Regions from separate parts of the Homo sapiens genome. Here region 2 is linked to region 1. The links are contacts of gene promoters, found by promoter capture Hi-C in human tissues and cell types (Jung and others, 2019). All regions are on one chromosome and are shown on one strand. The core of a region is centred on a gene start or on the middle of the fragment in contact, and the rest is flanking DNA. Distances in the headings are between cores, read along the strand shown.

Region 1 (7,445 bases), core at 3,151-5,650:
TATACCCTTTTCAAATGCAGAGTTTATAGTTTCCAAGGGGAGGAGGGCAGGGGAGGAGTAACCAGGACCTTTCCTGCCAGTCTTCCAATCGCGATAGCTCGTTTTGGCTGTGAATTTCCCCCCTTCCCCTCCCCCTCCCGTTAATTAAATAAACGCTGGAAGCGTGTGTTTACCGCACACGACTCGGCCCTCGGGGAACTCTTTTTCTACGTCTCTCCTACTCTTAAACTCCTCAACTCACAGAGGGTTGGAGAGCTGGCACCATGAGCTTCCAGTTCCTACGGGTGAGAAAAGAGGTGTCTGTGTGGAGGGCAGGTGCGACCCCGGGGGCTAGCAGAGAGGAGAGGCTGCGGGAGGACTCGCTGCGAAGGGCGAGGGGTGGCGCTGGGTGGGACGGGCGCCTGGGGCCGTGCAGGGTGGCTCCTGGGTGCTGCCCGGGCTGCCTGTCGCCCAGTACTGGCGCAGGAAGACGGGTCCGCGCAGCGTCTGGCAACAGTGGCCTGCTCCACGCCTGGAGGCGACCAAGTTCTGAGTTAAAGGCGCCGGGCTTAGCCGGGAAGTGTATGGCGACCCAGAACACGGAGCGGAGAAGGCCTCAGGGGACACGAGGCTACCGCCTTAGTCCTCGGGCCTGCGCTCCGAGCGGTTAGGGTGCGTACGGATGGGCTCCGGGATGTTAGTGGAGAGGTGACAGGAGTCTACCATCCCACGGCCAAGCGTGTGAGGCCTCCGGCGGGCGGGGGTCCCCCCCGGGGCAGGGCAGGGGGAGAGTCAGGCATGTCTCTAACGGGCTCCCTAGTAGAACCGCTAGGAAAGTGGCCTTCAACCCTAGGCACCTTTGTGGCTTTCAGGTAGTTGGGCGACTAAAAATTCACTTTTGCCTGCTGTGAAATGGGACAGGTGGTTGTCAGGTTAGAGACTGTGCCCACGAAGTCTCGTTTGGCGGGCCGGGACTGACGTGGACCCGGGCCCTCCTCGGAAGCTTGGGAACCTGTGAGCCCCTCAGCTCCTCGCCTCACTTTGCCTGTTTGAAAAAAGGAGTTGTTTGAGAGGAAGAGTTAAGGCTCAAAAGGTTCTAAACGAAGAGCATGCGGCCTGACGCGGAGCGCAAAGAAGCGAGCAGTGAACTGAATCTGGTGGGACTGAGACCAGAGGCGTCTGTATGCGGCGGCCGCTTCGCGCCCTATTAAAGCAATCTGTTATTTACGATAATCATTTTTGTAATTATTTTGGAGTGGCTGTGACTTGATGTCTGTGGTGCCCCAGGGCATGCCCTTACTGGACATAGATACTTCAGGGTGCCCTTTGACGCCAGTGTCGGTCCAGTGGGTGCCAGTGCCGCGAAGGGAGGGTGGCGGGCGTGAATGCCCCCTCCTCCTGGGTTTGCCGCAGGCCCCGGCCTTTCCACCTTGCTTGATCCTGGCGGGTCTGCCACTTACTGAGGTCCCTACCGGCGCTCACGTTGTCCCGAGAGGCGGGACAAACGTCCGGCGCGTGGCGCGGAGTCTGCGAAAGCGCTCGGGGGCCTCCATCTTCTGCTCGGGAGTCCCCTCCCTGGGGCGGGAAGAGGAGTCGCAGATCTGCCCGAATCTTGCTCTACCCGCCTGGCCGCCTTCTTCCGTCTGGGGTGGGGGCAGGGGTGGCGGATGACTCAGGCCTGGGGCCGGGAGCCCTGTTTCCAAAGGCACCACCTCGCGCCTCTTTGGAAGTGGCGCGCTGTTGGGGCGCTCCCGCTGTTGCAGAGGCCTGGTTTGCGGTTTCATAGGGGCGTGGGTCCAGGGCTTCCAGGGAGTAAGTGAGTTTAGGCTCCCTAGGGGGCGGTAGAGGGGAACCCCCGACAACCTTCCATCCTCTTCTCCAGGCGGCTGCGAGGCCTCCGGGGTTCCAGAGGGGTCCCCTTCTGCCGGTGCCGGCTGTCTTGAGCGCGGCCACGCAGTCCGCGTCTTCACGTGGGCAAGGGGCGGGGACGTTGGAGGGAGGCTGTCTTGGATGCTGGAGCCTTCGGTTCCCGGCTCTGCTGAGCAGAAAAGTTGAAGTCAAGGAAGGGTTGAGGCTTCCTCACAAGGGCGCGCGCGTGCCTGGGTGCCGGCCCAGAAGCCGAGAATGTGCGTATTGGGGAAGGGTCTCCCGTGCCGAGAAGACAGAGGATTTGTTCTAGCTGCCTTCCGTACAGAGGGCGCGGAGGTTGCGCTCCAGTTCGAACGCTTACCCATTGGAAAGAGGGCAGCGCCGGGGTCCAGGGAAGCTCCTTGGGAATGAATGGCCTTTGCCAAGCGGTTCCGGATCCTCTGGGTCCTTTGGGCCCACGGCACGGTGCTGCGCGAGCCCTCAGTGCCCATCGGCTCCCTTCGCCTCCTGCGTAGACGCTCCCAGGCGGGGAGGCATATCGGTTCCTCCGGGCAGCTTTGGCTAGTGTTGCTGTGGGAAAGGAGAGCCAGGGCCTGGGATGGGGGATGAGCACCTTCTTGCCCATTCCGGGCCCCAGCGTGCAGGAGGTAAACTTGCCAGCACAGACAAGACAGCTTGTTCAAGCTGCACCTCAGGCCGGGTCAGAGAATAAAACCGAGGGCTAGAAGGCCCAGAATGTCGGACAGCCCAGCGGCACCCGTCAGGGAGTCCCAGGCGCCCGAAAGAGGCGCCGCACCTCTGGCGAGTCTAGGACCCATCTTCCTGGACCTGTGCTCTGGAGTGCCTGCGGGCCTGGGTCTAATTTCTGCTTCTGGCAGGTGTCCCCCTCCCCCGCCGCTAATACCAGGAGCGCTGCTTCTGCGGTAACTTATTTTACCCCCAGAAGCCTGTTTTGGGACCGAAGTGTCAGGGTCCTGTGTGTCTTTTTATGCACTGTTCTCCTTAGTGCAAAGCCCTGCAGATATGCTTGGCCGAAAAGTCTCAGTGGTTTCAACTTCCAGATTTTGTTCCCGCGTCCGGTCGGAAAATCACCTGGGATTTGGCTGCTGTCTAAGGCCGGGGGAAAGTTTCCCTTGGAGGACGCCTATTATTATTATTTTCTTTTAGGCCCACCTGGGTCTAAATAAATGCTAAAGTTCAAACGAACCCGAGAAGGAACAGCGAGGCAGTGGATGCCGCCATTCCGTGGATGGGAGAGTCATGTCTACTGCAGGTGCGGACACCGTACTGATAGGCATTGATTATTGCAAAATCGTATTCAGTATCAAATAGAAATAGTCTTGTCCTCTAATCCCCACAGAATGTTTAAATCCAGCCCAGGGAGCCAGTTGGGGCGTCCCAACAAATACGCCCTCGAGAATTAGCGATGTTCCCCTTACAATGAAAGTCAATTGCTGCATAATAACTGGGCCAAAGAATTTCGTTAGTTTAAATTTTAAAAATTAGTATTGCACTTTGCTTTCAAGTTTGGGTGGCAAGTACCGAAGGGGAGAGGGAAGCAGCGTTTGTGTGGAAGGAAGTTTCGTTTTCTGTCTAAACATGTGGGACCTGGGTGTCTACCTCTCCAGTCGAGAGCTCTCTGCAGGCTCTCTCCCAACTTCCTGCACCTCCTCACCCTCACCTTACCCGTGGCGCTCGGGTTTTATTCCTGCCCGGCGCTTCTTTCCCAGGGCGAGTAGAGGCTTCTGAGTGACCGGCCCGCCAGAGGCAGCTGCAGAGCCGGCGTTCCGCAGGGCAGGGCAGGGCCGGGCCGCTGGGCTGGTCCAGTGCGCGCGGGTTCCCCCTGGCCTCAGCCAGCCGCGGGAGATGCCACTTCGGGCGACAGCGGCGAGACGCCGCTGTCCGCAACTCCTGGGCGGGTAGGACCGTCTGCTGCCTCTGCGGCCCTTGGGGCAGACTCCCCAGGAGTCCCTTCCTCTCTCCTCCCGCCCGGGGGCCGGGACCGCGCTGTGCCCACGGAGGGAACTGGGCGTCTCTGGCGCACTGGGGCTCCAGCTGCATGATCCCAGCTCAGACCTTAAGCCTCAGTGGGGTGTAGGTGGGATGGGATGTGTTTTTAGGAGATGAGGAGACCCCGGTTGTTGAGTCGCTCCCCAAATGCGCAGTTTCTTAACTCCAGGTGACATCCGTCTTTTGGAGGAACGAGTGAAGGCCGTTTAGGCGAAAGAGGGGTGGGTTTCAGTATTTGGATCCCTTCCCCCAGCTCTGCCAATCTCAGGTGTGTTTACGGTGGAGGTGACAGAAGGAAGGCGCGTCGGGGGACCCAGGCCTCGCAGGTCTTCGGCTGTCAACGAGGCACCGCCCACTGACTCCGCGCTTCGTCCCTCACAGCGTGGGGCTCGGCGCTGCGCCAGGCCCGGGTGCGGGGCGGAGCTAGGCTGGGACTGGCTGGGGGCCGCCCCGCCCGGCGCCTGGGCCTCCGCGCCGGCCCCCGGGGAGGAGTTATGATAATTTCCTTCTCATTAAGGCGCTCGGGTCCCCCGGCTATCGCCAGGACACACTGTTCGGGCGCGGCTTTCCCCGTCCGCGGAGCGGTCTTGACACTCGCGGCGGCAGCATCTACGCTCGCAGAGCCGCCGATGCGTGTCCAGTGACCCGGACAGCAAGGCCCGCGCGCGGCGGGGGCGGCGGCAGACGCCTGGTCACCGTGACCCCGATTTTGGATTTACCGCTTGGGGGCTGGGGGGATCCTGGATTTAACTGGCGACTGTTTTGGGGGACGCCGGACGCCATGTTGTGGAAAATAACCGATAATGTCAAGTACGAAGAGGACTGCGAGGTGAGCTGGGGCTCCGGGGTGCAGCCCCGCCCCGCCGAGGACAGTCCGGGAGGCAGGGGCCACTGGACCGAGGTCGGGGACGAGGGCATAGGAGCCCTGGCCTCTCGGTGGGACGGGATCCACTTCTCCGGACACCCCTTAGTCCATTTCTGCGGGGCCCCTTTCCTGTATAGGGCCTTTTCCTAAATAGCCTCCCCTCGGGAACGAGGCCTGGAAAGAGAATGGCAAATCCCACCCACACAGCTTACCGGGCGCTTTCCTAAGCGGCAAACAGCCCTGCTTCCCGTTTTCTCGGAAAAGTGCCCCGTCTGCAACCCTCAGACGTGGCTTTTACGCACGAAGTCTCTGTCCAAAGGGGTCAGATGAGGCTACCTGCTAGCGACACCTTGGCGGACACTCCTCCAAGGCCGGCTTGTCACCTGCCCCGCTACCTCCTCGGGGAAGCACGAAAACAACCGAAGTTTGGCTTTCAAAAGAAGTGGGGGCTGGGGAGTGGTGGTGGGGGTGCCCGAGGCCAGATGGGGCCGTAAGAGCTCGCGAGTGCTCCAGCCTGTCGGACAGGTTGAGCTAGAGTTTCGGAGAGTGGGAGGGAAGAAGGAGGCGGCGAGCGGGAAGAGGAAGAAGACGCAGGCAGCGCTAGGCGAGCTCAGGGGCGCCGGGAGCGCGGAGCTCGGGCTACGGACTCGCGGGAGTTCACTGCGCCTCCGGGCCCTGGAGGGCTGCCCCTGCCCGCAGGCCCGGGCGCTTCCGCCAGGAGGCGACAGCGCCATGTTCCTCCAGGTTCCCGGCGCCCCGAGACCCCTGGGCAGATGGGGACGCATCCTTTAGAAACTGAGTCGGGCCGCCCAGGGGCGAGGGAACGTGCGCGGGCAAGGCTGCCCAATTTCCAGGGTTCTTCATGCCCCCTCTGCGCCCCGACGTGCGAGAACACTGCCCTTGGCAGTGCAGGGCGCCCCCACTTATTACTCCCCTCGGCTGGGCCCGGCCAGCAGGGAGGGCCGCCCTGTGCGCGCGCTCCCTCTTCACTTCCCAGGGCGGCGCAGGGTGGCGGGCCCTGCTTTCCGAGCGCCGCCCGCTCGGAGGTCTTTGTCCCGAGGGCGTGGAAGGGAGGGTCCCGGGGGCGGGGGAGGTGCGCATTTCCCGCGCCGCGCACTCTATCCGCGCCTGCCGCGCTGCCACCTCCAGCAGTCCCTGCGTCATGGGCGGGCTCCACGAGATAGCTCTGCACCGGGCGTCCGGCTCCTTCGCCCCGGGCTCTGGCTCCTTCGCCCCGGGCTCCGGCCACGGACTTTTCTGGCCCAAGACCCAGGGTTCGGACTTGGCGCCTCCAAGCGCCTCGGGCTTGGGAGCAGCGCCTAGACCTTCGCCGCCGGGCTTTGAGAACTCGTTCCCCCAGGTCTTTCACCAGACTCTCCTCCCTCCCCGCACTCTTTGCTTACAACGAAATCCTCGGGGCGCATTGCCCCCGGGTACCTTCCGACCCTGGGCAAGCCCCGCCGGGCGGGGTGCGGTTGGTCCCCCGGGGCCCTCTGCGTAGCCCGGCGATGCCGGCCAGTTCGCAGTAGCGGGGTTTCGCACTAACGGGGTCTCCTGTTTTTTTTTTTCCCTCCAGGATCGCCACGACGGGAGCAGCAATGGGAATCCGCGGGTCCCCCACCTCTCCTCCGCCGGGCAGCACCTCTACAGCCCCGCGCCACCCCTCTCCCACACTGGAGTCGCCGAATATCAGCCGCCACCCTACTTTCCCCCTCCCTACCAGCAGCTGGCCTACTCCCAGTCGGCCGACCCCTACTCGCATCTGGGGGAAGCGTACGCCGCCGCCATCAACCCCCTGCACCAGCCGGCGCCCACAGGCAGCCAGCAGCAGGCCTGGCCCGGCCGCCAGAGCCAGGAGGGAGCGGGGCTGCCCTCGCACCACGGGCGCCCGGCCGGCCTACTGCCCCACCTCTCCGGGCTGGAGGCGGGCGCGGTGAGCGCCCGCAGGGATGCCTACCGCCGCTCCGACCTGCTGCTGCCCCACGCACACGCCCTGGATGCCGCGGGCCTGGCCGAGAACCTGGGGCTCCACGACATGCCTCACCAGATGGACGAGGTGCAGGTGAGCGGCGCTGCGGCTCCTGACCGGACCTGTTCACCCTACGGCCTTCTGCCCCCACCCCGCACTCCTCTAGGCTCCCCCGAACTTAAGGGAATTTTGTCCTCTCTCCCCCAGAATGTCGACGACCAGCACCTGTTGCTGCACGATCAGACAGTCATTCGCAAAGGTAAATAGCAAGGTGGCATCGTCTAACTCTGGTCACACGATCTGGGCTTGTGAAGTTGACTGGCAAGGTTGGGGGTATTTGGTGGCCAGCGTGGGACATTTGTGGTAGAAGGGACTGAAAGGGATTCATGGAAGCTAGATTTTAGGAGTGACAGAAAGGGATTTCCCTCCGACCTCCTAGGAGCTGTCTCTTCATCTCCGGAGTTGTTACTGCCTAGTTTTTTTTCTTGGAAAAATGTCCATGAATTCCAGTGGGTGTTTCACAATGTGAGAGAAAGTCTTCCAGAGCGAGTGAACACTGATTTAACTTGAAAAACAACAAGAAAAAAGTCACAGGCACACCTTCGTTGAGTGGTTGGTTCTGTAACAATTTTAATTGTTGAATAAGTTGTGATTTTATTTTTGATTTCAAACACGTGTATGGAAAACCTCCTTAATTCTGACCTGCAAGAAAAGTTTTGAAGCAATTTGGCCTACCAAATGAATACCTGTAAA
Region 2 (7,445 bases), core at 2,848-5,347, 220 kb after region 1:
TATTTGATACATATCTGCGAAGCTGAGAAAATTCTGCCTCAATTAGGAATAAAGTTAAGCTTCCAAAATTTTCTCTGAACAGTTCTATCTTTCAGGGAGAAGTTTCCCTCCTTTGCCCACGTTCACTTAGTTCGGTTTTTTTACATCCTAAAACTCTAGTTGGCAATGTTCATGATAATAACATTGAGTTTTTGCAAAAGCTGCAGATTTGAAGGGAAGAGGTAGGAAGTGGGAAATGGAAAACATCCATCTTTAGAATAACATAAATGTCTTATAACCAATTGTGAATGCTACCAGGGGCCTCTTAGCCCAGGAAAGGGGTGGACAGAGAGAAACCTCAGCCAGCATGAACAATGACCAGCAATGATCAGCCGCCTCCTGTGTCAGACACTGGGCTGAGAGACATCTTCGGCTTGCTGCATCTTCATGACCACGCTATGCTCCATTTTACACCTGGGGGTACGTAAGCTTCCAGAGGCTAAATAATTTGCCAAGTCCACACCACTAGGAAGTCGATGGTGAAGCTTGGGTTTACACCCTCATCTGGCTGACTCCGGAGCCTGGTTACTATATCCTGCCTCCTGGAAAGATCTGGGTTTGGCCAAAGGAGAGGCACATATACAGCCCCCCAGCCCTGGCCAGATCCATCCCAGCTACATCCTCAGAGTGGAATGTGGAAGGCAGTTTGTAGCTTCTGGCAATGTATAGGTCTTCCCAACGCTCTGGAACCTGAAAAATGCCCCATGGTGTTAAACTAACAAATGTCATTGTGTTTTTTGTTGTTTCTATTTCTTTCTCTAGAGTGCTTGGTATCTGGTCTCTCTGCAACCATGGCCCTTCTCCAAGGCCAAATTCACAGACTCTAGAAGTTGCAATGTAAGGTTTAGCACCTTTTAAGGAGACCCCTGGTGATTTCCCAGGAGAGGCTCCTGAAATCCTCCTGGTCTAAGTTGCAGTGAAGATGCCTCCTGGAGGCCTGATGCCTGCTTCAGCACCCCTCTGCACTCTTCCTAGGTGCTCCTGGTCTTTGGGCGTTTGTTGAGGAGGTGCCTGGGGTTAGACTGGGTCCAGAGGATGCTCTGTTGATCATGCTTGTTGGGAACCCCACAGCTCCTGAGGCTAGTGACACACACAGTCTCCACTGACCCCTGAGTCCCAGCTGGAATGGGGGTTTCCAAGTGTGATGCTGAGCCTTGGTTCCTTCATCTAAGAATTAGGTGACAAGAGTGTCTGCCTCACAGGGCTGTTGGGAGGATTAACTGAGATGGTGCCAGTCAGGTATCAGGCACCGTCTTCTATATGACACAGTGCTTGTTATATGGAAGGCTCCATAAGTCTCAGCCTTCATAATGGTAATGGGGAAGAGGATGAGGAAGAGAAAGAGGAGGAGGAGGAGGAAGAGAATAAGGAAGAGGAGGAGGAAGAGAATAAGGAAGAGGAGGAAGAAAAGAAGGGGAAATGAGGGAGAGATAAAAATAAAGAGATCATCTGGTCGGGTGCAGTGGCTCACACCTGTAATCCCAGCACTTTGAGAGGCCAAGGTGGGAGGATTGCTTAAGGCCAGGAGTTCGAGACCAACCTGGGCAACCCAGGTCTCTACAAGAATTTTAAAAATTAGCTGGACATGTTGTTGCACACCAGTTGTCCCAGCTATTTGGGAGGCTGAGGCAGGAGGATTCCTTAACCCCAGGAGTCTGAGGCTGCAATGAGCCATGATCACACCATTGCACTCCAGCCTGGGTGATAGAGTGAGGCCCTGTCTCAACAAAACAAAACAAAACAAAACAAAGGACAACAAAAAGAGAGACGATCTGAGATCATTGCTCAATTTCTTTGACTATAAAGTGGGAATAAGGCTGAGTGCCGTAGCTCACACCTGTAATCCCAGAACTTTGGCAGGCTGAGACAGGTGGATCACTTGAGGCCAGAAGTTAGAGACCAGCCTGGCCAACATGGTGAAACCCCATCTCTACTAAAAATACAAAAATTATCCGGGCGTGGTGGTGCACGTCTGCAATCCCAGCTACTCAGGAGGCTGAGGCGTGAGAGTTGCTTGACCTCGGGAGGGGGAGGTTGCAGTGAGATGAGATGGCATCACTACACTCCAGCCTGGGTGACGGAGTGAGACTCTGCCTCAAAAAACAAAACAAAACAAAATAATAAGTAGAAAAAATAAAGTGGGAATAATAACAGATCATCTTTCAAAATGTTGTAGAAAAGATGAATTGACATGACGTCTGCTAAGTGCTTAATATTGTGCTCGGCACATACTAAGTGTTCAATAAATCTTAGTTATGACAACACTTTAAGCTTCAACAAAATCAGGATAATAAGTCACCTTCTTCATAGGTTGTGGTGAAAACTCAAGATCACGTATTTGAAGTGAACAGAAAGTGCCTGGTACCTGTCAGACCTCAGTACATTGTCACTATTATTCAAGCAGAGGTGAGGAACTGTCCTTCTGATTGAGCATGTGGCCTCAAGGGGGACAGGAGCTGGGCCTGGGAATCTTCTGGAGAGAATGGAACTGAATTATTGCCCGGAGCCGGTGGAGTCTTCCAGGCAGAAGCAGCTCTCAGGGGGCAATGTCTGGCTGCTCCTGGCCTGGCTCACGACGGGCTGCAGCCTTTGTGGCAGGCCTGTCCTGGTGGCACCATGTCTCCCTCTCCATCCTTTAGTTTTCTCGCCAAAGGCCGGGGAAGCCAGGGCCAGTGTGAGTGCTGCCTCTGGGTGGTCTCCACAGTGCGGGCGGTGACTCCACTGCCCCCAGCCCCTTGACATCTGCCTTCTGTAGAGCACAGGTTGTCACCAGTTGACACTTACACAAGCCAGAAGCAGGCCCGGCCCACACTCATTGCCATAATAAACACACGCGGTAGTTTCTGAGAGCTGAGCTGTCCCATCCATCAATCCAGCGTGACATGCAAAGGGCCCCCGTGGTGGGAGTCGTGACTTCAAAGGTCAGAGCCTGACATCCAGGTGTGTGCATCAGGGATGCTGTGTGTCCTGGGCTGCAGTGGACGGCGGAGGTGAGCCATGGGGTCTGCGTGGGTGTGAGAGTCTGCGTGCATGCATGTGTGTGTGCATATAGATATGTCTATACACATAGGTGTGTGCACATATGCATGTGTGTATGTATGTATGTGTATATTCGTTTGTGTGCATATGTATGTGTGTGCATATGTGTAGGTAGTGTTCACGTGTGTATGTGTATATGTGTGTACATGCATGTATGCATGTGTGCACATGTATATGTGTGTGTGCATGTGTGCAGGCGTATATATGTAGGTGTGTATGTGCATTTATGTGTCTATGCATGTATGCCTATGTGTGTATACATGTTGTTATATGTATACTCATGTGCATGTGTGCGCATGTGTATGTGTTTATATATTTATATGGTTGTGTGCATGTGTATATGTAATGTGTGCAAATGTGTGTGTGTGCAGGCAAGCACATTAGATCAGGAGATCTCAATTCAAACATGTTCAGCCGCCAGCAAGGTTGTATAAATGTGAAAATGGGATGGGATAGAGAGAAAGTGACTCTGGTCCTTCAAATATAGGGCACATATGGTATAGAGTGCCGAGGACTGTGGCAAACAGGAAGCCTGTATCCCTGAGTGCAGCAGATGCAACCTCGTTGCTGCTGCATGAGGAATGCGGATCCAGTGTTACCAGGAATCCTCATTTTTCAAGAGAAGCCAGAAAGCTGGATTTTTATGTGAAATGGCTTGATTTTTAAGAATCTATTGTCAGCCCATTGAAGGAGATTGTTAAATGTCTCCTGGGTCAAAGAAAACACATGTGAGGCTTGAATTTGGCCTGTGGACATCCAGTGAGCAGTCGATCGCCACTGTGGTCATTTCTTTCTGATGTAGAAGGGACTACCCTACCAAGCTGGGCTTTTCCCAGAAGATCCTGCACTGGCTTGGAGGAATGGATCCTAATGGGGTGGTTTTGCCCACAGGAGGCATTTGGCAATGCCTGGAGACAGTTTTGGTGATCAAAACTGGGTCGTTGTTGTTGGTGGTGGTGGTGGTGGTGGTGGTGGTGCGCTCAATACTGGCAGCTGGGGTAAAGCCAGGGATGCTGCTGAACATCCTACAGTGCCCGGGACAACCCCTAGCCTACCCCAAGTTAAAGAATAATCTGGCTTGGCCGGGCACGGTGGTTCACGCCCATTATACCAGCACTTTGGGAGGCTGAGGTGGGTGTATCATTTGAGGTCAGGAGTTCAAGACTAGTCTGGCCAACATGGCGAAACCACGCCTTTACTGAAAATATAAAAATTAGCCAGGCTTGGTGGCAGGCACCTGTAATCTCAGCTACACGGGAGGCTGAGACAGGAGAATTGCTTGAACCCGGGAGGCAGAGGTTGCAGTGAGCAAAGATCATGCCATTGAACTCTAGCCTGGGCAACAAGAGTGAGACTCTGTCTCAAAAAAAAAAAAAAAAAAAAAAAAAAAAAAGAATAATCTGGCTCTAAATGTTGACAGTGAAGTGAGGTAGCTGAGAAACCTTGAATTAGAATCATCCCGAGGGTGATTTGAGAAGGCCAGCTTCTGGTTGTGGAAATTCCTCACTTATGAGCAGTGGCCTTTAGGAGTCAGTTTACACCTGATTTAAAATGTCCTCCAAAGGTCATCTTTCCAGCCTAGTGGCCTGTCCAGTGCTTTCCTGACATGCCAGCCCCGTGATAGGTGTGTCACATGTCTGAAATCAGCAAACCTCTCAACTCCCAGGAGACAAACCACTTTTATCCCCATTTTACAGGTGAGAATACTGAGACAGAGAAAAACCGAGCAAGAGTCTGTGGTCACACACACACATACACACACACCACACAGGAAAGTTGGTAGAGCCTGGATGTACTTTGGACAGTCTGACTCCAAACCCACCCCCTTAATGACAGGTCTACACTGTGAGAAGACATGGACTGAAATTGTTTTGCATTCTCTTGCACATCTGAGAGTTTGCTTGACTGCTTTTTATGCCTGGAACATTCTTCTCTTGGAAAACACCTACTTAACTTTCAGGGCTCAGTTCTAAAAGCTCCTTCTCCCGAACGTTTCCCCCTGAGGAGGGACTAGGTCAGGCACCCAGTCTGGGGTTCCTTCACCAACAAGGTGTTTTCCCTAACAGAGATCATTTCTCATTTACTGTGATTGCTTCAGTTTCTGTCTTATTGTGGCATGAGCATCCATCACAGCCATGCTAATACCTGGCACATGCTAGGCACTGACTAACTGTTGAATGAGCGGATCAATGAATGGATGGGTGTTTCCTTGCTTCCCAATTAGCTTTATTTCTGAACTTTGCAGTTGAGTCTTTTTGATGAGCTAGGCGCTGTTCTAAGTACTTTACGTGTATTAACTTGCTGATCTTTGCAACAGTCTTATGAGGTAGGCATTATTACTATCCCTGTTTATTCTCATTTACTCAACTTCTTAGGCAAAGAGAAGTTAAGGAACTTGCCAAAGTCACACAGCTAGTAAGTGGCAAGGACTTCTTCAGTGGCTGCCGCAGTGACTTTCTGCAGGCCTGGGAACAGAGCTGAGCTTTGTTCTTGTCCTAACTCTCTGGATCTCCAGATAAGGGCTCAGTGAGCTTATATTATGTGACTCAGGACAGATTCACATACAAACAACTATTTTACCGAACATCTACAATGTGGTGGGCATTGAATTAATTGAAGTGGTTATATTTTCATGTACCTTTGTCATTTGTATCTCTTGTTTAAGTATTTGCTTGTTTACATCCTATTAGTATATTTGACTGTCTGTTATTGATTAGCAATTACTCTTTACATATTAAGGCTCTACACAATATGTTTGTCACCTTTTTCATATTTCCCCAATTTAGTTATTTTTCAACTTGCTTATACTTTTTTATTTGCTATTCAGAGTTTAATTTTTAGGTAATTAAAAATGTTTTTTATGGTTTTAGTCCTTAGTACCATGCTTTGAGACTCTTTTTATCCCCAAGATTATAAAATATTAATTCATAGTTATTTTTCTATTCCTTTTAGTTTCACTATTTACATTATTTGTTTGCTTGCTTATTTAACATTTTAATCTTTGGTCCACCAGGAATACATTTTGCCATATGAGGTGAGGCGAGAATCTCAGTTTGTTTATTCAATAGGTCTACTTTTACACTCCCAAGAAAAACTCATTGCTTTGACTAAAATAGGCAGCCAAAAATGTTACAACGTACAGTTGAGCAGATCAGCTCATAAACCTACTTGCCCTTCAGTGACTGAGAGATAGCATGCCGTGTGTCTTAACCATGTAACCGGCGGATGTGATCACGTTAGACTCTGGATTTTTGACAGATGATGCTTTTTTAGGCATTTACTTGGAGGAGATACAGATACTCCAGACAGGACGTTTGCCCATTACACAGCTGCCCCTGCACTAACTCCCCCCACCTCACCTTGCCACCTGTCAAATTACCCCTTTATTCACACGCCTGCTGGGGACCCCTTGGTACATTACCAGTTTTTAAAATGTGATATCAGTTTTGGTGATCTGATTGGCAAAGATGAACGAGGTCAATAACTCCTGCTGTGGCAGCTACGGAGGGAAAAGGGCCGTCTTGATCCTCACTGTTTTGAATGTGTAAAGTGGGGGTAAGGTGGAGGTAGGGGGCTCTCTGCAGAGCGACACCCAGGCTGGGCACTGGTCACTGTGTTGTGGGCCTTACATTCTTTCGCTAGGCCTCCAAACCACCGTTAAGAGGTAGGAACTATCTTTAAGTCCATTTCACAGACAAGACCACTAAGGCACAATGAAGTAACCTGCCCAAGGTCAAGTATCTGGTAACTACAAACCCAGGCTGCCTGGGGTCTACACTACAGCCTTGTTCGGTTTGCAGTGACAGCCTTCAAGTCCTGCTTACTCTCAACCCAACAATTGTCTCTATAGGATTGATCCTAGGGAAAGAGTTGTGGATGGGTAAGCAGATTTGGGATGAGGCTGTGTATCAGAGGGTTGTTTTTTGATTTTGTTTTTGAGACGAGGTCTCACTCTGCCACCCAGGCTGGAGTGCAATGGCATGATCACAGCTCACCCCAACCTCTGCCTCCCGGGCTCAAGCGATCCTCCCATCTCAGCCTCCGAGGGTAGCTGGAGCCAAGGCCTGTGCCACCATGCTCAGTTAAGTTTTTGTTTGTGTTTTTTTGTAGAGACAAGGTTTTGCCACGTTGTGCAGGCTGGTCTCAAACTTCTGGGCTCAAGCAATCCACCCTCCTTGGTCTCCCACAGTGCTGGGATTACGGGCATGAGCCACTGTGCCTGGCCAGGGTTTTTTTCAACAGTGAAAAATTGGAATTAACCTAAAAGCCCATCAATAGTAAATCAGTAAATTCTACTATATAGTATTGCATATCCTGGACTGTGATGCAGTTTTTAAAGAGTTATAAAATCGATATGCTTTTTTGAT

Evidence for each region. The method cuts DNA at HindIII sites, captures the fragments that hold promoters and counts their contacts. A contact is called where the count stands out against the background at its distance.
Region 2: a fragment that was not itself captured here is called in contact with the fragment with the promoter of TFAP2C in region 1 in 1 of the 25 tissues and cell types used here (H1 embryonic stem cells).

The regions. Positions count from the first base shown.
Region 1 is chr20:56,624,906-56,632,350 of GRCh38, forward strand. It overlaps TFAP2C (transcription factor AP-2 gamma), which reads left to right and starts at 4,401. Exons shown (of 7, transcript NM_003222.4): 1 at 4,401-4,687; 2 at 6,300-6,785; 3 at 6,900-6,951. The coding sequence starts at 4,640. RefSeq lists enhancers at 1-663, 2,188-2,948 and silencers at 4,312-4,371, 4,428-4,722. The HindIII fragment of the contact is 13,903 bases long and covers 1-7,445 here.
Region 2 is chr20:56,845,995-56,853,439 of GRCh38, forward strand. No RefSeq gene overlaps it. Among named protein-coding and RNA genes, the nearest start is that of TFAP2C, 220 kb to the left of the region's middle. RefSeq lists a silencer at 2,575-2,720. The HindIII fragment of the contact is 7,669 bases long and covers 264-7,445 here.